Linked DNA regions of Homo sapiens: region 1 is linked to region 2. Evidence: promoter capture Hi-C in human tissues and cell types (Jung and others, 2019). All regions are on one chromosome and are shown on one strand. The core of a region is centred on a gene start or on the middle of the fragment in contact, and the rest is flanking DNA. Distances in the headings are between cores, read along the strand shown. Region 1 overlaps DBT (dihydrolipoamide branched chain transacylase E2). Region 2 holds the start of CDC14A (cell division cycle 14A).

Region 1 (5,560 bases), core at 2,821-5,320, 150 kb before region 2:
AGTGGATTCCAACCCCACGGAGCCCAGCAAGCTAAGATCCACTGGCTTGAAATTCTCGCTGCCAGCACAGCAGTCTGAAGTCGACCTGGGATGCTGGAGGTTGGTGGGGGGAGGGGTGTCAGCCATTACTGAGGCTTGAGTAGGCGGTCTTCCCCTCACAGTGTAAATAAAGCCACAGGGAAGTTCGAACTGGGCAGAGCCCACTGCAGCTCAGCAAAGCCACTGTATCCGGACTGCCTCTCTAGATTCCTCCTCTCTGGGCAGGCATCTCTGAAAGAAAGGCAGCAGCACCAGTCAGGGGCTTATAGATAAAACTCCCATCTCCCTGGGACAGAGCACCTGGGGGAAGGGGTGGCTGTGGGCGCAGCTTCAGCAGAATTAAACCTTCCTGCCTGCCGACTCTGAAAAGAGCAGTGGATCTCCCAGCATAGCGCTTGAGCTCTGCTAAGGGACAGACTGCCTCCTCAAGTGGGTCTCTGACCCCCATGCCTCCTGACGGGGAGACACCTCCCAGCAGGGAATGACAGACACCTCATACAGGAGAGCTCTCGCTGGCATCTGGCAGGTGCCCCTCTGGGATGAAGCTTCCAGAGGAAGAAGCAGGCAGCAATCTTTGCTGTTCTACAGCCTCCACTGGTGATACCCAGGCAAACAGGGTCTGGAATGGACCCCCAGCAAACTCCAGCAGACCTGCAGAAGAGGGGCCTGACTGTTAGAAGAAAAACTAACAAACAGAAAGGAATAGTATCAACATCAACAAAAAGGACGACCATGCAAAAACTCCATCCAAAGGTCACCAACAGCAAAGATCAAAGGTAGATAAATCCATAAAGATGAGGAAAAACCAGCATAAAAAGGCTGAAAATGCCAAAAACCAGGACGCCTCTTCTCCTCCAAAGGATCACAACTCCTCGCCAGCAAGGGAACAAAACTGGACAGAGAATGAGTTTGATGAACTGACACAAGTAGGCTTCAGGTAATAACAAACTCCTCCGAGCTAAAGGAGCATGTTCTAACCCAATGCAAGGAAGCTAGGAACCTTGATAAAAGGTTAGAGGAATTGCTAACTAGAATAACCAGTTTAGAGAAGAACATAAATGACCTGATGGAGGTGAAAAACACAGCATGAGAACTTCGTGAAGCATACACAAGTATCAATAGCTGAATCGATCAAGCGGAAGAAAGGATATCAGAGATTGAAGATCAACTTTATGAAATAAAGCATGAAGACAAGATTAGAGAAAAAAGAATGAGAAGGAAGGAACAAAGCCTCAAGAAATATGAGACTATGTGAAAAAGACCAAAACTACGTTTGATTGGTGTACCTGAAAATGACAGGGAGAATGGAAACAAGTTGGAAAACACACTTCAGGATACTATTCAGGAAAACTTCCCCGAACTAGCAAGATAGGCCAACATTCAAATTCAGGAAATACAGAAAACACCACAAAGATACTCCTCGAGAAGAGCAACCCCAAGATCCATAATTGTCAGATTCACCAAGGTTGAAATGAAGGAAAAAAATGTTAAGGGCAACCAGAGACAAAGGTCGGGTTACCCACAAAGGGAAGCCCATCAGACTAACAGTGGATCTCTCGGCAGAAACTCTACAAGCCAGAAGAGTGTGGGGGCCAATATTGAACACTCTTAAAGAAAAGAATTTTCACCCCAGAATTTCATATCCAGCTAAACTAAGCTTCATAAGTGGAGGAGAAATAAAATCCTTTAGAGACAAGCAAATGCTGACAGATTTTGTCACCACCAGGCCTGCCCTACAAGAGCTCCTGAAGGAAGCACTAAACATGGAAAGGAACAACTGGTAGCAGCCACTGCAAAAGCAACCCAAAATGTAAAGACCATCGACACTATGAAGAAACTGCATCAACTAACAGGCAAAATAACCAGCTGTCATCATAATGACAGGATCAAATTTGCATATAACAATATTAACTTCAAATGTAAATGGGCTAAATGCCTCAATTAAAAGACACAGATTGGCAAACTGGATAAAGAGTCAAGACCCATCAATGTGCTGTATTCAGGAGACCCATCTCATGTGCAAAGACACACATAGGCTCAAAATACAGGGATGGAGGAAGATTTACCAAGCAAGTGGAAAGCAAAAAAAAAGAAAAAGCAGGGGTTGCAATCCTAGTCTCTGATAAAACAGACTTTAAACCAACAAAGATAAAAAAAAGACAAGGGCATTACATAATGGTAAAGGGATCAATGCAACAAGAATAGCTAACTATCCTAAATATATATGCACCCAATACAGGAGCATCCAGATTCATAAAGCAAGTTCTTAGAGACTGGCAAAGAGACTTAGATTTCCACACAATAATAATGGGAGACTTTAACACCCCACTGTCAACATTAGACAGAACATTAGACATTAGACAGAACAATGAGACAGAAGATTAACAAGCATCTTCAGGACTTGAACTCAGCTCTGGACCAAGCGGACCTAATAGACATCGACAGAACTCTCCACCCCAAATCAACAGAATATACATTCTTCTCAGCACCACATAGCACTAATTCTAAAATCGTACACACAATTGGAAGTAAAACTCTCCTCAGCAAATGCAAAAGAATGGAAACAATAACAAGCAGTCTCTCAGACCACAGTGCAATCAAATTAGAACTCAGGGTTAAGAAACTCACTCAAAACCACACAACTACATGGAAACTAAATAACTTGCTCTTGAATGACTGCTGGGTAAATAATGAAATGAAGGCAGAAATAAAGATGTTCTTTGAAACCAATGAGAACAAAGACACAACGTACCAGAATCTCTGGAACACAGCTAAAGTATGTGTAGAGGGAAATTTATAGCACTATAAATTTCCCACAGAAATAAATGCCAACAGAAGAAAGCAGGAAAGATCTAAAATCAACACCCTAACATCACAGTTAAAAGAACTAGAGAAGCAAGAGCAAACACGTTCAAAAGCTAGCAGAAGACAAGAAATAAACAAGATCAGAGCAGAACTGAAGGAGACAGAGACACAAAAAAACCCTTCAAAAAAATCAATGAATCCAGGAGCCGGTTTTTTGAAAAGATTAACAAAATTGATGGACTGCTAGCTGGACTAATAAAGAAGAAAAGAGAGAAGAATCAAATAGACACAATAAAAAATGATAAAGGGGATATCACCACTGATCTCACAGAAATACAAACTACCATCAGAGAATCCTATAAACACCTCTTCACATATAAACTAGAAAATCTAGAAGAAATGGATAAATTGCTGGACGCATACACCCTCCCAAGACTAAATCAGGAAAAAGTCGACTCCCTGAATAGACCAATAACAAGTTCTGAAACTGAGGTAGTAATTAATAGCCTACCAACCAAACAAAGCCCAGGACCAGATAGATTAACAGCCAAATTCTACCAGAGGTACAAAGAGGAGCTGGTACCATTCCTTCTGAAACTATTCCAAACAACAGAAAAAAAGGGAATCCTCCCTAACTCATTTTATGAGGCCAGCATCATCCTGATACCAAAACCTGGCAGAGACACACACACAAAAAGAAAATTTCAGGCCAATATCCCTGATGAACATCAATGCCAAAATCCTCAATAAAACACTGGCAAACCGAATCCAGCAGCATATTACAAAGCTTATCCATCACAATCAAGTCGGCTTCATCCCTAGGATGCAAGGCTGGTTCAACATGTGCAAATCAATAAACATAATCCATCACATGAACAGAACCAATGACAAAAACCACATGATTATCTCAATTGATGCAGAAAAGGCCTTGGATAAAATTTAACACCCCTTCATGCTAAAAACACTCAATAAATTAGGTATTGATGGAACATATCTCAAAATAATAAGAGCTATTTATGATAAACCCACAGCCAATATTATACTGAATGGGCAAAAGCTGGAAGCATTCCCTCTGAAAACTGGCACAAGACAAGGATGCCCTCTCTCTCACCACTCCTATTCAACATAGTATTGGAAGTTCTGGCCAGGGCAATCAGACAAGAGAAAGAAATAAAGCATATTCTATAGGAAGAGAGGAAGTCAAATTATCTCTGTCTGCAGATGACATGATTGTATATTTAGAAAACCCCATCGGCTCAGCCCAAAATCTCCTTAAGCTGATAAGCAACTTCAGCAAAGTCTCAGGATACAAAATCAATGTGCAAAAATCACAAGCATTCCTATACACCAATAACAGACAAACAGAGAGCCAAATCATGAGGAAACTCCCATTCACAATTGCTATAAAGAGAATAAAATACCTAGGAATCCAACTTACAAGGGATGTGAGGGACCTCTTCAAGGAGAATTACAAACCACTGCTCAAGGAAATACAAGGGGACACAAACAAATGGAAAAACATTCCATGCTCATGGATAGGAAGAATCAATATTGTGAAAATGGCCAAACTGCCCAAAGTAATTTATAGATTCAATGCTATTCCCATCAAGCTACCATTGACTTTCTTCACAGAATTAGAAAAAACTACTTTAAATTTTATATGGAACCAAAAAAAAAGCCCACATAGCCAAGATAATCCTAAACAAAAAGAAGGAAGCTGGAGGCATCATGCTACCTGACCTCAAACTATACTACAAGGCTACAGTAACCAAAACAGCATGGTAATGGTACCAAAACAGAGAGATAGACCAATGGAACCGCACAGGGGCCTCAGAAATAACACCACACATCTACAACCCATCTGATCTTTGACAAACCTGACAAAAACAAGCAATGCGGAAAGGATTCCCTATTTAATAAATGGTGTTGGGACAACTGGCTAGCCATATGCAGAAAACTGAAACTGGACCCCTTCCTTACACCTTATACAAAAATTAACTCAAGATGGATTAAAGACTGAAATGTAAGACCTAAAACCATAAAAACCCTAGAAGAAAACCTAGGCAATACCATTTAGGACATAGGCATAGGCAAAGACTTCATGACTAAATCACCAAAAGCAATTGCAACAAAGCCAAAATTGACAAATCAGATGTAATGAAACTAAAGAGCTTCTGCACAGCAAAAGAAACTATCATCAGAGAGAACAGGCAACCTACAGAATGGGAGAACATTTTTGCAATCTATCTATCTGACAAAGGGCTAATATCCAGAATCTACATGGAACTTAAACAAATTTACAAGAAAAAAACAAACAACCCATCATAAAGTGGGCGAAGGATATGAACAGACACTTTTCAAAAGAAGACATTTATATGGCCAACAAACATATGAAAAAAAGCCCATGATCACTGGTCATTAGAGAAATGCAAATCAAAACTACAATGAGATACCATGCCAGTTACAATGGCAATCATTAAAAAGGCAGGAAATAACAGATGCTGGAGAGAATATAGAGAGATAGAAACGCTTTTACACTGTTGGTGGGAGTGTAAATGAGTTCAACCATTGTGGAAGACAGTGTGGCGATTCCTCAAGGATCTAGAACCAGAAATACCATTTGACCCAGCAATCCCATTACTGAGTATATACCCAAAGGATTATAAATCATGCTACTATAAAGACACATGCACATGTATGTTTATTGCAGCACTAT
Region 2 (5,989 bases), core at 2,537-5,036:
TGTCATGAGTAAGGGTGATCATAGGTCCTGCAGCCTCCAGGCAGAATTAGAACTAGTGGCTTTTGACATAATTTAGAGCTGCCTCCAGCAGTGAGTTTTCTAGAACTGCAGGTGCACAAGCACGGGTTGCAGGGTAGTTGAAGCAGTTTTCAAGCAATGGTTGAGGAGTTAGATTTAAATTTTGTCATTTTCAGGGCGAGTGCAGTGGCTCATATCTGTAATTCCAGCACTTTGGGATCCTGAGGCGGGCGGATTACTTGAGGTCAGCAGTTTGAGACCAGCCTGGCCAACATAGTGAAATCCTGTCTCTACCAAAAATATGAAAATTAACCGGCGTGGTGGCGCACATGCCTGTAGTCCCAGCTACTCTGGAGGCTGTGGCAGTAGAATCGCTTGAACCCGGGAGGTGGAGGTTGCAATGAGCCCAGATGGTGCCACTGCACTCCAGCCTGGGCTACAGAGCAAGACTCCGTCTAGAGAAAAAAAAAAAAGGCGTTGTTTTCAAACTCGACACTTTTTACACTTACCTGCTGAATTTCTGTGTGTAATATTACCTTCCTTTTGTGCAGTTGAGCGATATGTAAACTCTCTTAGTATTTCCTTTATATGTGAAACGCCTTTATTGTTTCTTAAAAGTCCATTCCTTAAGTTTATATCAAGTTTCGTGGTTGGAAAATTTTCTTCCATTATCTTCCCTTGTAGACTGTAAAAGTATGCCTTTATTATGAAACTACAACCAACAGGAACTTTGACCTCAGGATAACTGAGAGAATAAAGTGTTTTTATGATCTCATTAGAACCTTGGTATGTATTATACGTGTGCTGTGTGTGCATTATCTAGTTCATATTTTTCTTGTAGAATTTTCTATACCATTTAGAATGGCTTAGAGAGATTTGATTATACTGACACTTCCTTCCATGCAATTTTGTTGTTGTTTGTTTGAGACAGGGTCTCACTCTGTCACCCAGAGACACTGCACTGCTGGAGTGCAGTGGCATAATCACGTAATCACAGCTCACTGAAACCTCTGCCTCCCGGTTCAAGCCATTCTCCCGCCTCGGCCTCATGAGTAGCTGGGATTGCAGGTGCCCGCCACCACATCTGGCTAATTTTTTTTTGAGACGGGGTCTTTCTCTGTCGCCCAGGCTGGAGTGCCGTGGCACTATCTCGGCTCACTGCAACCTCCCGAGTAGCTGGGATTACAGGCGTGTGCCACCACACCCGGCTAAGTTTTGTATTTTTTTTTTTTTGAAACATAGTTTTGCTCGTCACCCAGGCTGTAGCACAATGATGCGATCTTGGCTCACTGCAACCTCCGCCTCCCAGGTTCAAGCCATTCTTCTGCCTCAGCCTCCCTAGTAGCTGGGATTACAGGTGTGTGCCACCATTCCTGGCTAATTTTTTTGTATTATTAGTAGAGTTGGGGGTTTCACCATGTTGGCCAGGCTGGTCTCGAACTCCTGCCCTCAGGTGATCCACCTGCCTCGGCCTCCCCAAGTGCTGGGATTACAGGCATGAGCCACCGCGCCCAGACAAGTTTTGTATTTTTTTAAGTAGAGGCAAGGTTTCGCCATGTTGGCCAGGATGGTCTTGAACTCCTGACCTCAGGTGATCCGCAGGCCTTGGCCTCCCAAAGTGCTGTAATTACAGGTGTGAGCCACCATGACCAGCCCCATGCAATATTTTAAAAAACATTAATTACTTACAGAGTTTTATTATCTTTGTAAAAATGCTAAGGAAAAATAAACATTTTCATTTGAATTTAAGGACTTGTATTTGTTAGGTCATAATTCATTCCTCATGATCACAATTTTAAGCAGGAGAGTTATATAAAAGATTTTTGTAAATTCATTTTGGAAAATAACAAGAAGGTGTTCAACTATATCTGGCTTCTCTGAAAGTGTAGATTGGAGTTCATTAGACTATTTACTTTGTGCAATTAAAAGTTTATGAACTGAATGAGAACTCTGACTTCTATTTCTAACGCACTTTTTAATGAAAAATTGTTGGGGAATTTGAATTTAGATTATGCAAGAATTTTAAATCAGCATCTTCGGAAATACAACAACATCTTTGGATTTATTTAGCCTTTTAAACAAAGTGGGCAAGTTTATCGAGAGATTCATATACTTTGTTTTTCCCTATCTTTCATATAAGAAATACTAGATTTTTTTTCAATAAAATAATTTGAGGCCTGGCGCGGTGGCTCAGCCTGTAATCCCAGCGCTGTGGCAGGCCAAGGCAGGGCGGATTGCTTGTGCTCAGGAACTGGAGACGAGCCTGGCCAACATGGCAAAACCCGGTCTCTACAAAAAATACAAAAATTAGCCGGGTGTGGTGGCGCACGCCTGTAGATCCAACTATTTGGGAGAATGAGGCACGAGAATCGCTTGTACTCGGGAGGTGGAGATTGCAGTGAGCAGAGATTGAGCCACCGCACTCCGGCCTGGGTGACAGAGCGAGACCCTGTCTAAAACAAAACACACATTAAAAAAAAAAAAACCACAAACAAAACCTGCAATTGGCCCTCGAAGGGCTGGTTCCCTCAGTCAGCTCTGCACGGGTGCGCCCCCTTTCTCCCTAGAGGTCAACAAGCGACTGCGAAGGAAAACGCCGCCACAAGTTTCTTGCTGTTTCTGGAGAGACCTCTCAGAGCGCATGCTCTTCGGATAGTCGGTCTGTAGCGCCATTTTCGTATGGAAGGGACTGCACTCTGATTAGGTACAGCCTTAGGACGCCCAGCGTTCAAGTTGTTCAAACAGTACGTAGAGCCTCGCAGAGACAAGTCAATGGCCTCTTTTAGCGGGACTCCTGCCTGGAGCGCTTCAGCTGAGACTATGTAAAGAAATTCCTTTGTGTTAACCTTCCTCCTTGGACCAGTGGACTCTCCTCTCTCTCCTGTTCCCTCCGCGCCCGCCCAGGCTGGCTCAGCGGTCTCGCCCCGCCCCTCCGGGACCGGAGCACTGTAAAGATTAGGCATCTGTGATGCTTTTGCGCTCACATTGGCGGCCCAGATGAGAGGGCGTGGAGAACCAGATGGGAAACTTTTTGTCCCGTGAGAACAAAGTACAAGTTATATCAGAGTCTGGTATGTGTAGAGGAAACCAATACATGTACTGTGAGCTAGGAGCTGGTGCTTCTTTTTCAATTGTATTTTTTATAAAGATGCAGACCCCCTCAGTGTTGGGCGTGGGGGGTGGCTGAAATGTTAGCTAGAGGCGAGGCAGGGCACGGAGATCTGAGGTTTTTACGAGTGTGTGTGTGTGTGTGTGTGTGTGTGTGTGCGCGCGCGCGCGCCCTACAAGAGTTTAGAAGAGCATGGGTGAGTGGGCGAGAAAGAAAGAGAATGAGAGAGAGAGAGAAAAGAAATCTGGAGTGGGACAAGACTTAGAGGGTGCAGAAAAGAAAGGGGGCGCCAGCACATCCTAGCCTCCGAGGCCGCGACAGCGCCTTTGGCGATGTCCACTCTCAACCCCGCCGTTTCATTCATAAGTTTCTGGCCTACAGGCCCCGCCCGCTCCCCTGGGCCGAGGGCCCCGTTTCCTGAACAGCAATTGGTGGACGGCAACAAAGCCTTAGCAACCGGCTCCTAGTGACCCGCGGGGCGCCTGGTAACTGGGGCTGCTGCGGAGAAAGGAGCGGGGCTGTCCCTTTAAGGGATGGCCGCGGAGTCGTGAAAGTGGAGGGGGCTGAGGGAGGGCGGGGAGGAAGGTCTGGGGGCGGACCCAGGGGGAGGAGGAGGAGGAAGAGTAACTGCTGAAAGGAGGTGGCGAAGGAGGATCCGGAGCAGCTGCTGCCAGCCCGCGGGCACTGAAGTCCTCCCGGCTGCCGCTCGAGTAGCCACGGGCGCGATCGGGACCAGAAGTCTCCTCCTCCATGATCACTTTGGAAGCCGGGGGAAGACTTTGCCCTGCCCTGAGAGCTGGTCTGCGTTTCCCAGGCGCGGCGGCGGCGGAGCAGCAGCTGCAGCAGCCGAGTCCAAATAGGAGCGGCCACAGCCAGGGGCGTGAGCGCCCCGCGCGGAGCGAGCTCGGGTTCCCCTCGGAATGTCCCCGGGGCGCCCGGCGCGCTGACCCCGAAGCCGCCTCCGCCTTCGGCGCCTGCTGCCTCCCTCGGCCAGGCTTGTTGTTCGGGACTGTGAGCTTCCTGGCTCCTGGGCAGTGGGGAAGCCCCCGGGGGCGAGTGACTTCAGCTGGCCACGACCCAGCCCTCCCCCGTGCGTATCTCGCTTAAGATGGCAGCGGAGTCAGGGGAACTAATCGGGGCTTGTGAGTTCATGAAAGGTGAGGAGCAGCCGCCCCGCATCTTCCAACGCTTTCTTGCCCCCAACTCTTCACTTCCCGCGCCACTGTCCCCACCTTCTCCTGAGGCTGCCAGTGTCCTGCAGCCGCTGCGCGCGCTCTCGTCCCCTCTAGGGACTCTCCTTTCTCCGAGGACCCCCTGCTTCCGGCTTCTCTTTCTTGTGTCCCTTGCTCCCTCTGCAGCTCCCTCGGATGGCCTCTCGGCCTCGTAATGGGACAGCACCGGCTTCTGCCCGTACTCCGGCACTCAGCAGCTCATGGGGAGCCTGCTCCGGATGCTCACCGGTCACCTTTACTCCACCATCGCAGGCTTCGGTTTTCGGGACACCCCCAACCACACCCCCCAAGTCTCTCTCCCTTCCTCTTTTTCAAATCTCCGAAGCTGCGTCGGGAGGCTCACCTCTTTCTTCCCCTTCTCGCAGCTGCTGAGGTCTGGAGATTTGGGAACCAAACTTGCACCTCCAGTTCTGCGGGTACCCCCAGCTCCTGCCTACTCTGCTGGCCTGAAACAAGGGAAATGTGGGTGCTCTGAGCCCCGCTGAGTTCCTCGGTCAGGTCCTCCTCTTGCCTAACTGTTGTGCTCTTGAGTCTCTAGCTTTCTGGGAGGGATGAGGTTTCTGCAAGAATTCCACGTGTTAATGGGGTCTTTAAATTGTGATCCTTCGTATGTTACCACCCACCTTCACTTCCACTTCTCTACTTCTCATATGTTTTTTCTGTCTTTTAAACTTGTCTTTCAGATCGGTTATATTTTGCTACTTTAAGGAATAGACCAAAAAGCACAGTAAATACCCACTATTTCTCCATCGATGAGGAGCTGGTCTATGAAAAGTAAGTTTATGTTTTGTTTTTTTTTCTCTTGGCCATTCAGCTTGTTCTTTGACGAGGAAACACTATGCACTTTTATGGCAGTTTTATTCATTTCCCCCCCAATGATACGAGTAACAATATCAATTTTTTAAGACTCAGGTGCCTGGGGAGAAGTTCAGAGAAAATTGACAGAATTTGAACCTTTCAACACTTCAGTTCTTTTAGACATCTATCTGTTTTAGTTCTTCCTACCACCACAACAAACAGCAACTGGAGATTCCTAACATTCCCCAGAGTAGGACCAGGGAGACACACTGTCATTGCCAGACTCAGTAATTGGCCTGTGAATCAGTCACTAAGTATTTATGGAGTGGCCATAGGGTACAGGGCAGTGCATGTATTACAGGTGCTTGAGCTTTATAGTTTACAAGACTTCTGTTCTATCTCAGGATGTTTTTGTTTGTGCAGCTCTTTTTCAGAAAGTGGGACACATTAACTGCGGGGAGCTGTATCAGAGTCACATTTATGACTAACATTTTATCTGACATATTATTGATTCTTTTATTTGGGTACCCCAAACTTTTTGATATTATTTTCTTTGCTTCTAAGGAAATGATATAGCAGTGCTGATTTATTTTCTTTGATTACTTTGCTTCTGTGGGATTAGGATTTGAGAGTGTAAAATAAAAGTAGGGAACTGTTTTCTGTGAAAGACCACTGATCTACAGGAAAAAGATATCTTAATACTTCAGGCATAGTAAAACATTAATTGAAGAGAGATAAATCTTTATTCAGTAAAAGTATCAGATAATAAGAAATAAGAAGGCTGAATTGACTTGGTTATGTACTTTTATGAAAAGAGCTGGTGTTTCAGAGG

Evidence for each region. Contacts are between HindIII fragments. The study calls those that stand out against the background at their distance.
Region 1: a fragment that was not itself captured here is called in contact with the fragment with the promoter of CDC14A in region 2 in 1 of the 25 tissues and cell types used here (aorta).

What each region holds. Positions count from the first base shown.
Region 1 is chr1:100,200,112-100,205,671 of GRCh38, forward strand. The region is part of intron 10 of DBT (dihydrolipoamide branched chain transacylase E2); the gene reads right to left. Among named protein-coding and RNA genes, the nearest start is that of LRRC39, 25 kb to the left of the region's middle. RefSeq lists an enhancer at 1-823. The HindIII fragment of the contact is 5,861 bases long and covers 1,141-5,560 here.
Region 2 is chr1:100,348,720-100,354,708 of GRCh38, forward strand. CDC14A (cell division cycle 14A) reads left to right here and starts at 3,787. Exons shown (of 16, transcript NM_003672.4): 1 at 3,787-4,284; 2 at 5,043-5,133. The coding sequence starts at 4,236. RefSeq lists enhancers at 2,544-2,973, 3,014-3,063, 4,314-4,623, 4,664-4,913 and silencers at 3,564-3,653, 3,684-3,733. The HindIII fragment of the contact is 17,975 bases long and covers 1-5,878 here.